2 separate regions of the Homo sapiens genome follow, and region 2 is linked to region 1. Evidence: promoter capture Hi-C in 16 types of primary human blood cells and fetal thymus (Javierre and others, 2016). All regions are on one chromosome and are shown on one strand. The core of a region is centred on a gene start or on the middle of the fragment in contact, and the rest is flanking DNA. Distances in the headings are between cores, read along the strand shown. Region 1 holds the start of SYT15 (synaptotagmin 15). Region 2 has its middle 6.5 kb from the start of NPY4R.

What was found. Contacts are between HindIII fragments. The CHiCAGO score rates a contact against its expected background, and 5 or more counts as called.
Region 2: a contact is called between a fragment that was not itself captured here and the fragment with the promoter of SYT15 in region 1, in 6 of 17 cell types (M1 macrophages, erythroblasts, M0 macrophages and 3 more). The highest score is 6.6, in M1 macrophages.

What each region holds. Positions count from the first base shown.
Region 1 is chr10:46,575,865-46,582,440 of GRCh38, reverse strand. It overlaps SYT15 (synaptotagmin 15), which reads right to left and starts at 3,313. Exons shown (of 8, transcript NM_031912.5): 1 at 3,266-3,313; 2 at 2,073-2,277; 3 at 1,405-1,547; 4 at 250-545. The coding sequence starts at 3,272. SYT15-AS1 (SYT15 antisense RNA 1) reads left to right here. Exons shown (of 2, transcript NR_155739.1): 2 at 1-273. RefSeq lists enhancers at 1,691-2,570, 2,571-3,448. The HindIII fragment of the contact is 10,756 bases long and covers 1-6,576 here.
Region 2 is chr10:46,469,129-46,475,704 of GRCh38, reverse strand. It overlaps a transcript of NPY4R not described here. Among named protein-coding and RNA genes, the nearest start is that of NPY4R, 6.5 kb to the right of the region's middle. The HindIII fragment of the contact is 2,742 bases long and covers 2,003-4,744 here.

The DNA of each region.
Region 1 (6,576 bases), core at 2,064-4,563:
TTCCAGGTAGTCAGGACAGGGAAGCCCAGGCTTCTGGTCACCACTCACCAAATCTCTCCCCTGCCCCTCTATCAGGGATCAGCTCCTATAGGCCTTAACCTAGCAGACTAGGTAAAGCAGAGCTGGTGGCATCAAGGGTCCCGGGGGCTGCAGAGCCCTGGCTGGTACAGGAGGCTGGGCTCTCCTGTAGGTCTGCACCTTCCCAGCAACGCGGAGGGCACCAGACCCTGCCTGCTCCAGAGGCTGTACCTGAAAGATGAAGTGCTCGTCAAACTGCGGGTTGGAGGTTTTGCGTTTGGTCTTGGATTGGAGGAAGCGCCGCTCATCGGGCAGCAGGTAGAGCTTCACCAGGGGGCTGCAGGTCTCCGAGGGGGCTTGCAGGTGCTGTGCCTTGATCAAGCCCACCAGCAGCCGCTCAGCCTCCTGCTCATATTCCACCGAGAACCACAGCCGCCCCAGGCAGCCGTCGGGGAAGTCGGTCTCACTTTTGTCCTCCGGGAACTTGTACAGCTCTGGGTTGATGGCCCCCACCATACATGCATCTCCTATGACAGAGGGTGGGAGGGCTGGCAGGCCAGAGGAAGGCAGGGGCATGGGAGACAGTGGCAAGCTCTGGGCACCCATCCCCATCCTGGCCCATCCGTCTCTGCTGAGCCTCAGCTAGCCTGACCACATCTGCCCCACTCTCCTCACCAGGCTAAACACATCCCCTCTCTCTGGTGCAGCTCCTCCAAGAAGCCTTCTCACCATGAAGGCATTGCATGGCCAGGCTGGGGATCCAGCAGAGTCCTGCCCCCTGGGATTGGCCCCCATCCTTGGAGGTCAGGACCTGTTTCAAGGACACAGTGCCCATCACCTGGCCTAGCCCCCTTCCATGGCGTCTAGGGAATGACTCAGCGATAAAACATTGCCTTTCTTCTTCCTCTTCAAATTAGAAGGGCCAAGGTGATTATTGGGTGGTTCCTGTGATGGTCTCTTGGTAGATCTTCAGGGCAAAGAGGTGGCAGAAAGCTGTGTTTGCAGCCCCTACCATTCTGTCCTCTTGGTCAACCAACCCATCATCCTAGAGTGGGACCCAGCACAAGTTCTGTACATGGCGTGCCTGGGTTCCAATTCCAATCTGTTGCTTACAGCCTCAGTTAAGACTATGTAAAATGGGGTGATAATTCCTCCCCCTCAGAGTCATGGTGAGGTCTCACTCCAAATCAGCACCCAAGGCCATATCTTACCCTCATGGGGTGCAGCAAGCACTTCATAAATGAAAGCACCCAGAAAGAGTGGTCCCTGGGTGGTCCCTGGCATCCCTGGCTGGTTCAGGTTGTGTTCCGGAGCCAAGCTGGTGAAAGCAGATGGGGCCACCCGAGCAGACCCTGACCTCTGGGCAGCCCTGGCAAGGACACTCACCAAGGCCGCCGCTGGAGGTGTGAGGCAGCAGCTCTGATGCCGGGCAGGGGTCCCATGGGGCATCGGCCCACTCTCCACTGTGCAGGGGCACCCAATCTCGGCCTTGAAGGGTTGGGGGCACCACGAATGGCACAGCTGGTGGCCTGTCCAGAGTCAGGGAGACAACATGTAGGTGGCAAGTCAATGGTGTGGTCTCAGAGCGCTCAGCCAGGACGGTTGAGCACCAGGGGCTGGAGGAAGAAAAGCCATCGGGAGCCAGGAGGAGGCCAGGGCACCATTTTCTGGGCCCATACCAGGCAACACACACACACACACACGCACACACACACACACACACACACACACACACACACACAGCAGTGGGATTTGAAGAAGGAACACAGCACCTGACAGTGTCAGCCAGTCTGGGTTTGGATTCCTGTTCTGCCACTTACTAATTGTGTTCTCTGGACCTGTTGCTTATGTGCACTGAGCCTCAGATTCCTCACCTGGAACATGGGTTTCATAACACCTGCCTAATAGCTGATGTGAGGTTTCTGGGGTTTCTTTGTGATAGCTCCCAGCACCGAAGCAGCATAGAAGAGGCACCCCCATAAACAGAACTTTCCTTTTCGACCCCACCCTGAGGGAAATTCCAGGGGCGCACTTGGCCCCACATCCTGCCTCACCTGCTCAGTTGGGTCCTAGCATGCGGCTGGCAGGGCCTGTCCCGCTGCCCACTGGAGGCAGCTGTGGTGGCCATGGCTGGTGTCCCAGGCAGCTCCTCATAGGTGAGGGTGGCACAGAACCTTCTCCACAGACAGCAGCTTGCCCCGATCAACAGCAGCAGCAGCAGCCCCCCGATGGTGCCCCCAATCACCAGGGCCAGCTGCTCTGGGGGCAGAGACCACCAGTACTATGATGCCTGCCTGGGAAAGCCACTCTCCCTCACAGCCCTGGCCTGCTGGGGCAGAACTAGGGCAGCAACCCTGCCTCTGGGTTTGATCTCAGGAGTGATAGGAGCAGGCCTGCTGGGGATGGGTTCCGGGAGGGATGCTGCTGGCTAGGTTCCGCCAGCTCTCAGAGGAGAAGCCGTTTACCCCAGGGTCTGAGAGCCCTGGGCAGAACCTTCTAGTTTTCCTTGGAAAACAGCTGGCCCTGCCCTTGGGATTCTGGCTTAAAGAAGCCATTTCCTTGCGCTTCTGAGTAGAAATCAAACCTGCCCTCACCAGAACCTCCATATCCCCTGGGCTCCTGTTGAGGCCAGGAGGGGAGCTGGGGTGTGGACGCAGTCAGTTAAGGAAAGCCCTGAAAGGTACCTTCCCCCTGGTCTGCAATCAAACCTCTACCCTCTGGGGCCCTGGAACCTGCTGCAAGGCTGGACTCTTCTCTAACACCCGCTCCCTCCCCTAGCCCTCTATCAAGGTGAGCACGCGCTTAGGGGAGTTGGTGCGACGCGGTGGACGAGGTGGGGAGGAAAAGGGGGCAAGACCCCGTTGCTGCTGGCCCTCACACGTCCGCATTTGCGGGACCTAGGAGGCTTCGCCCCGGGGGTGCTCAGACGCTGGGTTCCAACCGCTGGCCACCTGGGGCGGGCCAAAAAGGTGCCTCCCTTAGGGTGACGTGCGGCCGCGGGGCATTCAGGTCTCAGGGATCTGCACTGGGTGGGGTGGTGAGAAGGCCGGACCCCCCACACCTCCTAAGCCGCAACTGACCGCGAAGAGCGGGCCTCAGCGTCTACTCCATCCCAGTGCCCCTCCAAGAGCGCGCCGAGGCCGGGCAGGGCAGGCGCTGCACCCCAGCGGGGGCGGCGGGGCGGAGGCAAGTGCTGGAAGGGTCGCAGAGGGGCCGGGGCTGGGCTGGGGAGGCGAGGCTCGCTTACCCGCCATGGGGCTGCTCCCGCAGGCTGGTCTCGCCGGTCTGGGCGGCTGGGGCTGGGCTGCCAGGCCGTCTCTTAAAGCGCCGCGGGGCGCCGTCGGGCGAGCACAGGGGCGGTCCGTGGTGCTGCTGGTGCCCAGCTGCGGCGCGGGGAGCCGCGCAGTGCACGGCAGGGGCAGGGACCCAGCGCCCCGAGGCCGCAGTCCCGCCCCAGCCCGTCCCTGGCCCAGGCCCAGGCCCGGCGGTGGAGGGGCGCAGAGCCGACCGTGAGCTCCCGGAAACCGCAGGGCTCCAGCCAGGGCGGGTCCCGGGCGCCAGGGGCGCCAGGGGCTCCCTGCGGCTTGGGGCAGGGTGGGGTGAGAGTACCACCCCCATCCCGGAGAGCAGGGCTACAGCCTTCACCGCCGCGTCTGACACAGGGCTCCGCACCCGACCCCTCACACCTGGTGGCCAGGACTGAGCCCCCGCCCTCCCAGATCCTCCTCAAGCCGAGGCCCCTCCAGCCGCAGCTCCGACCCCGGCTCGGGGGAGCCTTCCCGGATCCCGGGGTGGAGTCTCCGCGCGGGTCCCCGGCCCCAGCGCTGCCTGCCTGATGGCCTTGGGCAGGGATGCGGCGCTCGCGCACCCGTTCGCTCTCAGCGGACAAACCGGTCGAGAGCGCAATTCTGGAGCGGGTTCCAGAAGCTCCTGGGTTCCAATTCAGGCTCCTCACTCGCCAGCCCTGCGATTTGGGACAACTTAACGTTCGTAAGCTGGGTTCAGTCTTCTCAATTGGGTTAATGTCCGTGAGGGGCTCTCGTAAGGGCGGCTGGCCTGCCGGTAACTTAAGAAGCATGTAAAGAGCACTTAGAGCGGAGGAGCGGCGCGGCCCAGCCCCTGTTACGGTGGTTATCGGATGGAGGCCAGCGTCGCCTGGGTCCCCTCTGTACACCCAGCGCCTATTATTATGGTGATTATTAGAACGCAGGGCCCGTGCCCACTAGTCCAGGCTGGCGAACGCGCCTTGCGGGAAAGGCGGGAGTAAGGTCGCTGCGTGTCCTCTCTGGTCACACCTCGGCGCGCCCTGGTCGCGCCCCTATGGTTCCCCCGCCGAGGCCTCGAGGCGTCTGAGTGGGGAGCGAAAGGAATGTGTGTATCTGTGGTGCAGGGGAGTGTGTGTGTGTGGGGGGGGGGAGGGGGTGGTTGTGGGGGAGTGCGTGTTTTGGGGGGATGGACCTTCTCGTTTTACAGCCTTGAAGGTTATGTCCAGAGTCATAGCCTGGGTCCCACACCCCCGCGTCACCTGTGCCTGTCCTAGGGGGCAGTCAGTGTGCGTGAGGCTCCACCCTGCCTGGGCTTTGGCTCACCTAAGGCGAGGAGGGTGGTGAACTGGGGTGCCCCACTGGGCCGGGTCTGGGAGCCCTCAGCGCCAGGGTGCAGAGGCCGCAGCCACTCCCCTTCTAGGGTCTGGGCGGTGGGGGCATGAGAAGGCGGAGACCCAGGCCACTTCACCCAGTAACTGTCCTCAGCTGTGCGCTTAACTGGCGAGATCTCCGCTCTACTTGGAGACAGTCTGGGGTGTCTGGAGAATCCTCCCCCACTTCTGCTTACCCCAGGTCGCTGTGGGAGCAGGTGTCTCAGGAAATGGGGCCTGGGTCCCACCCAAGGCCTCGGGTCTGAGTTAGATGTCTGTATGTTTGTTGTTGCCCCTGCAACAAAGTACCACAGATTGAGTAGTTTAAGCCACATGCATGTTATCTCACAGTTCGGGGGGTCGGGAATCTAAACTGGGTTGGCAGGGCCTGTGCCTTCTGGAGGCAAGGGAGCTGTTTCCCAGCGTTTCCAGCTCCTAGAGGCTGCTAGCTAGTGGCCCTTTCCTTTGTCTTCAAAGCCGGCAGCACAGCCTTTTCTAACCTCTCCCACTCCAGGTCATTTCACATCAACTCTTTCTGCCTCCCTCTTGTAAGTGTGATACCCTACCTTGTTTTAACCTGAATTGACTGTCCCTTAGCTGAGAGAGCCAGACACACTCCATTTTGGCTCCTTCACTTGCAGCCCCTTACCCACCCCCCTTCCTCAAGGACTTAACTTGTGCAAGCTGACTCCCAGCACATCAAAGAATGCAATTAATGGATAAGATACTGTGGCAAGCTATATCCGCAGTTCCCAGGAATTTGCCCAGTTGATAGTACCCTAAGCCCCCACATTTGTGTCCGGTTGATGGTACCCAAAGCCCCCGCATCTATCGCCTTGTGATGGATTTAAAACCCCTGCACCTGGAACTGTTTGTTTTCCTGTAACCATTTGTCTTTTAACTTTTTGCCTGTTTTGCTTCTGTAAGAGTGCTTCAGCTAGGCTCCTCCTCCCCTTTCTAAACCAAAGTATAAAAGAAAATCTAGCCCTTTCTTCAGGGCCGAGAGAATTTTGAGCACTAGCCGTCTCTCGGTTGCCGGCTAATAAAGGACTTCTGAATTCATCTCAGAGTGTGGCGTTTCTCTATAAGAGGCTCATCAGATAATCCAGGATAACCACCACCCCCATCTCAAGATCATTAACTTAATCACACCTGCAAAGCCCCTTTTGCTATGTAGTCACGGGGTTGGGGATGAGGACTTGATATCTCTAGGACCATTGTGTGGACCATGTTGTCCATGCAGTACCCTGGGAGGGGTGGCTTACATTTCCCCTTCCTCTGTCTAGAGTTCAGTGTGCCTCAACACTGGACTCAGGCAGCTAGCAAGGCTCAGGGGACCCCTACATGGAACCCGTCAGCTATCTTGACCCCTTCCCCCAGCTGCCATGCACCCCCACCTGACCACCCCAATGGGGCATGGCATCCACACCAGCTGCCTCCATGATTGCGCCCGAGCTGTACTCAGGCTGTTCTGGGGGTGGAGTTGGGTAGTGGGATGTTTTTTGAAAAGGGAATCCCTTCTGGCACTTCCTGAGTGCCAGGCCCAGAGCTGCCATCTCTCGACCCCCATGCTGTGCTTTTCCAAAGTCCCCATCTTTCTCTGTGTCACCAAGTCCTGACAGCTGTTCCTCCTCTGTCCATCTCTATCATGGCAAAAAACCTTGCCCAGCCCTCCATCACCTCTCATCTGGAGCTCTGCATGGGCCTCCTCTCAGCTCTTCAGATTCCATGCTGCACCCACTCCCCTTCCCAGCTGTTGTCTTCCAGGCTCCCCTCCCATTCTCATCCCCCCCACCACCCATCTCTATGCAGTGCTTGTGCCCAGACTGATGCAGCTACTTCCACGGCTCTGCGTATGCACTGGGCTCTCCCACCATGCTGCTCTCTCCCTGTCTGAAATACTCAATGCCCCTCCCACCCTC
Region 2 (6,576 bases), core at 2,124-4,623, 110 kb after region 1:
TGCTATTATACCTCATTTGGATCTGGGAATTTTCTCATGTGATGTATGTACACACACACACACACACACACACACACGACTAATATTGCAATATTCTTTTTTGTCTATGTTTGTGTGTCCTTGTAGAACTTTCTATAGCCCAGTCTGGAAGTGTAGGGAAACTGTATCTGTTTCAGAGTGAAACTGCTCTAGGGGATGGGAAATTTTGAGTTTATTATTTCCATGAGAAAATGGAATGGGGCTTCTTTTGGGGGAAGATTTAAAATTATCTGTGGAAAAAAGTGAGTTGGACTTGGTAATGTAAGATGAGAAATTTTTCATTATTATATTCAATGAGATAGATACAAATACTGGTTTCCTTAATATTTCTGAAATTGTATCATTGACTATGATAGATGAGACTACTGTTCAAACATATTCACTCTTCCACCTCTCCATTTCACTGGAAGAGTGTAGTTACTGGTTCTATTAATGTTGGGCATGGCTCTGACTTGCTTTGGCCTCAGGGTAGGTGGGGGACAGTTCTTTGCCTCTCGACTGTGCTCAGCCATGTAGCTTGCTTTGGTCAATGGATGTTAGCAGATGTGACTCACGGAGGAATGGAAATTACCTTGCATAGCTGGGCTTGTCCTCTTGAACTGCTGCCATCTCCATGCATAACACTTCTTTGAACTCCTTCAGCCTGAGCCCCAGATGGAATATCAGTGGAGAAGTTTAAATCTCAGTGAGGAGCCAAGTCCAGTTGGACTCATAGCTTGAAACAGAGCTGCCCCATTGAGCTCGCCTAGGTCAGCTAGCCCCAGCTGACCTGCAGTCATGTCAATTGTATGTCACTAAGATTTTGTGGCTCTTTTTTACTCAGCTTTAGCTAACTAATATATCACCATATCAGGGAATTTTGGTAGGACAACATAGCTAAGCACAATTTGAGATGGGGAATAGAATAGGGTAAATTCTCTGTTCAAAGCATATGGTAATCTGGTGCCTATTTTACTTATTATCCCATTTGTGCCCTTTTTTATAACATGTCTTTGGAAGCGAAACTGTACATCCAGTGTCTCTGTAACACTGAGTCTATTGTCCATGTAACATTCAGTCTACTGAACTGCTTTAAAATATTAGTTGAATGACAGTAGACTGAATGAATCTCTGTAGTTCCAGAAGGCAGGGAGAAGGATTGGGAGAGTCGACACAAAGTGTGCAGCCAGGGCTGCGTTGGTATTTTTCCTCTGATGTGCTCCACAGAAGGGCAGCTGACCCACTGTGGGTTGATAATTTCACTGGTTCACAGAAGACAGGGAATATAGGACTTTAGGGAAATAATGTGCCTTTGTCTTTGTCTTTCTCTTATTCTCTATCAAGGGGGAAAATGCTGCTCTGGGCTGGTTGGATTCAAGCTCATGGATTGGACCATGGGATAAAGTTTTAGTGGCAGATGGCTACTTCCTTGAAATAGAGTGGAGAAAAAGGGTGGCAGCATTGGTGAGAAGGGACAGGCAGGAGGCAGTAGGGAAGTCCAGCTTTACTCTGGAGAGAAGAAGAGGTGGGGGTGGGGAGGGCAGGGCCAGCTGTTTGGGGTGGGAGGCAGGGAAGGTGTTGGCTGCCCAGTTGACATCTCTTATCTCTTTCCTGGGGCCAGAGTAGGTTATTTTACAGCCCAGCCTCTTTATGGCCTCAGCAGAGAAGCAAAGGCAAACAAAGAACAGGTGATCCCTCAGGGCCCAAGGAGACGCCTCCTACAGCAGGTGTGCCCACTTCAGCAGCCCTGCTGGCCAGAATCTCTACTTAGAAGGCTTCTGGGAAGGCCAGGCCCTTATCGGCTTCCGACTTTGAAGTCCTAGGAACCCTCCCTCACACCTCCCTTCTATGTGGCTTTGAAAATACTTTGATATTCTATCCCTATCCCTTAATTATTTGAACCCTCACCAGTTTGTAATGAGCCTGAACCCATCTTTGCTCCATTTTACATATGACAAAACTGAGGCTGGAAGCGTTGTTGCCAAGCTTCTTTGCCCTTTGTACCATGGGATTTAATTACATATATTTTATGGATTCTTTCCTTTATAAAGTTGTAATCATTCATTCTTTTTTAATAGAGAGAAATTTAGAAAAGGAAACAAAGCAAAAAATGACCTAAAATCCTATGGGTCAGATAACTCCCGTTGATATTCTTTCCTTCTTTCCCCCAGTTCTATTTCCAGAGGTTACCACTTTCAATTTTTATTTCTGTTTCATTCTATAAAGATGAAGAAAATTTTTGACACCTTTAAAAATATAATTTAAATCATCTTAAACTTATAGAAAAGTTGAAAGTGAGGATAAAGAACATTAATTTTTCTATGCCATTTGAAAGCATGATCCCGGCAATTTGCATGAACACCTTGCTACCGCCTCATCTGCAGGCTCCACTAAAGTTTCATCAGCTGTCCCAAGATACACAGGTTTCATTCTCCTGTCTCTGGTCTCCTTCAATCTGGAATGGTTCTCCCTTCTTTCCTTGACTTCCATGGCCTTATGTTTCCAGATGACAGGCCAGTTATTCTGTAGTATGTCCCTCACCTGGGTTGAGGCTGATGCTTCTTCAGGGTTGGATTCACTTGCATGCACCTTCAGCAGGAAGATCACAGAAGCTGTGCTGCGTTTTCCTTGCATCCTGTCATGCGGTGAGTAATTTCACTCTAGGATTAGAGATGGTGTTCGCTATGATCATTTGATTACAGAGGTGACTGCCAGCCTTCTCCACTGTAAGGTGACTCTTCTCTTTGTAATAAACAAATATTTTGTGATGAGGCACACTGAAACCATGAATATATTCCATTCCTCATCAAACTGTCACTTTACTCCATCATTTAGTTATATTGAAATGGACTCAGATTTTTATTTTATTCAGTAGGTTATTATCCATCATCATTATTATTTACTTTGATGCTCACATGGTCGAAGATTTGGCCATCAAGGGCCCCTTCAAGCCAGGTTCTGGGCTTTTCTGGCCTGCACCCTTCATTCTTAGAGTACTTCATTACTTTCTAGCTCCCAAGATCTTTCAGGTTTATCTTGGGCTTTCCCAGCCCTTGCCCTGGAATCAGCCATTTTCCGAAGGAGACTTGGATTCTTTTAATGGAGAATGGCATTTAGAAGTCAATATATGGGTGCTAGGAGTGTTCATTGCTATTGGGGTATCACTGCTCCTAGACTCTCTCAGTGGACAGAGCAAGGATATATATGCACACACACTATTAGATCAATATTTATCTCTCTATATAGAAAACCATGAGCTCACTTCAATACTTTCAATTCTAATCAAAACCACAGGGCTTATTCTGGGTTTCCCTCCTTCCATATTCATGACTGCCTTCTCCATGAGTGAGAAAACTGGCTCCCAACTTTGCTCAGTTGGTCCCCCTGCATATACCCAATCTTCCATAGCAGAACTCTGCCCCTCCACTCATTCTGTGTGGCTCTGACATCCACACTTGGTTGTCCCCTTCTGCCATGTGGACTTTCATTTGACAGTACTTGGACTCTAACACCCTGTGCTAGGCCACCGTGCCCCTGCCTCCCTGCATGGCCACTCTTTGTCCTATTCTGGCTCTGACATGCCATGCCAGGCTCCCCCACGCCAGATGGGTGCCATCTGGTACATATCCCGTGTGCTTAGCTTAGACTACCCGGGCTATGATGGCTACTGTCCCACCCATGCCCATGTGCTGCATGCATCTTATGAAGGCATCTGGTTTATTCTCCCTGCTCATCAGTTCAATCAGCATGTGCTACCAGTGTAGTGCACCAGCATACCATCTGTGGATCTGTGGGATGTTCAGAAGATCAAGGTCTCTGTAGACCACACTATAACAGAAAGCTGGAAAACGAACATGATCTGGGAGAAGACACTGACTTTGTACTTCTATCCTTGCCAGGTGAAAGCAAACTTCTGCTGGTTCTTACCGATACAGATGGGGAGAAAACACAAGCTGAGTCAATAGCTACATACTAAGTGCTGAGAGTGGTTAAGTTGTTCTATGTTGCATTTAGAAAAGCAGCTAAAATTGGAGTTACTGCCTGATTAAATTTACGACGACATACAGTCATTCTCCAAGATTCAGCAACTTCCTGCACAGGCTAAAGAGCTAAAGAGGTGAGCCAAGTGGGCAGAAATGTGACAGGCCTCCCTGTCCCTGCATCTTTCATGTCTTTAATCATGGCATCGATCCCTGTAATTCCCCTAGAAATACAGTAATGCAGGTTTACTATTTGCGTAGGGAAAGAAAATCCCAGGCTCCTGGGCCTGTTCAACCATTTCTTTGACCTCATCTCTCCTTGCTTGATTTTATACCAGTTGTGCTGGAGTACCTTCTAATATGGTTTGGCTCTGTGTCCCCACCCAAATCTCATCTCTAATTGTCATCTCCACATGCCGAGGGAGGTACCTGGTGGGAGGTAATCGGATTATGGGGGCAGTTTACCTCATGCTGTTCTCATGATGGTAAGTTTCCACGAGATCTGATGGTTTAAAAGTGTTTGGGAGTCCCTAGCCTCTCTCCTGCCGCCATGTAAGATGTACCTTGCTTCCCCCTCTGCCATGGTTGTAAGTTTTCTGAGGCCTCCCCAGCCATGTGGAACTGCGAGTCAATTAAAGCTGTTTTGTTTATAAATCACCCAGTCTTAGGTAGTTCTTTATAGCAGTGTGAAAATGGACTAATACACTTCCTTAATGAACTCTCTCAGAAAGGATTCAGGAAATGTAAGCTTGCAAGTTTAGAAATATCCTTATTCTACCTTTACACTTGATATTATCGCTGAGATGAGCGTTTTAGGTTCAAAATATATTTCCAGGAGTCCTAAAAATATAGCTCCATCTTTTCAGAGTCTTCCATCATCCTATGTTGTTGACAAGACTGAGAATGGTCTCTGTCTCTCCTTTCCTTTGTAGGCAACCTTTCTCTTCCTGCTCCCACCCATGGAACATTTTAGAATCTTTTTTTTTTTTTTTTTTTTTTTTTTTTTTTGGTGTTTTGAAATTTTGCAGTACCTGTCTAGGTGTGGAGCAGTTCCTCGGGCTTCCTTTTAATCTGTAGCTCTGGAATACTCTTGCTATTGATGATTCTATGTGTCGACTATTTTGCTCACACCCCACCCAGATGCATTCTCTACTGTGGTTCTCTGCTCTTCCCTGTGCCAGGGGAAGCTGATGGCTCCTTTGCTGGCAGGGCTCCAGTTGGGTTTGGTCAATGGGAGGGACTGACAGGAGACTGGAAGTGGAAGGAGAGAGAGGTTGGTAGAATTCTTTTCTACTTCCCCTTGCTTCCATGCTGTCTGGAGGCGGTGGCATGCCTCCACACTACAGAAGCTCCCACTGGGGGCCCTTCCTCTGCAGTCCTCTGGCTGTGGTAATGTGGTTTTCTCCTTTTGTTCTTTTAACTGTAGGGTGGTGATTGCTTCTGTCTTCTGCCAGTCTCTGGGTGCCTCACCATTTCTTGTTTCTTTCCTTTAATGCTTCCCACACCTCTGTAAGTTACCTTTTTATTAAAATCCCTTTGTTTGACAATCTGGGGGTGAATTATGTGTCCTGTGCAGACTATGACTGATATGCTGCCTTTCATTGTCTTGATTTTTCCTTCCTGGAAATTTTAGTAATTGGATGATGGGTCATTAGTGTTAATCATCCATGTCTCTTATTTTAGCTCTGAAGTTTTCCATCTTTCTGTGTTTTTGCTCTACATTATGGGATATTTCCTAAGCTGGTTCTCCCATCCCTTCTAATGATGTGTTTTCAAATTTCAGTAGTCATGCTTAGTTTTCAAGGATTCTTTCTTGCTTTCTTAGTCTGTCTTATTTCATGGCAATCTGCTCTTGTTATATGGATTCAGTAATTTCTCTAATTTAGGCATTAAAGGAAGTTTTGGTCTCTTAAAGTTATTTTCTATTCCCTAAGTTATTTCAGCTTCTTTTGGGGTCAGTTATTTTGTTTATTCATCTTGACCTATCTCCTTTGTGCTGTTGATTTCCTAAATGTGTGAGGATCTTTGCTTCTCTGTTATAAGTACTGGAAAATAAACTGGTTTCCCCGGATAGCTGATGTGGCTTCCCTCTGCTACAGCCTTCCATGAAAAAAGTAGGACAGCTTCCGGGAGCTAGCTATATGTGAGTGGACCATGCTTGGCAGCTGCCCTTCAGAATGCACAGGTTGCGGGCAGGGATGGCCAAGGACATTTCTCAGGGAGCTGTGTGTGTGGGATGGGTCTCTGAGAATGGAGAGCTTGATGAGTTCAGGCCGTGGAAGCAACATCTACACAAGCCTGGATCTGAGAAACTCAACCATACTCCCTGAAAATGGAGAGTTTACATGCAGAATGAGTCTGGGGGAGGCAGCACTAGAAGGCCTGAAAGAGGAAGAGAGTCAGACTGATTTCAGAGGGACCCATCCTAGAGGGACCACTGCCATGACTCCATGGGGACATTTCCAAGGGGAGCCACAGGAGGTTTCACTGGAGAGTTGTGTATGTCTGTCCAGTGTCTAGGAGGTGCTCACCATGGCTGAGCTTGCAGGGCCTCTTAGGACTGTCCAGGTGAGATGTG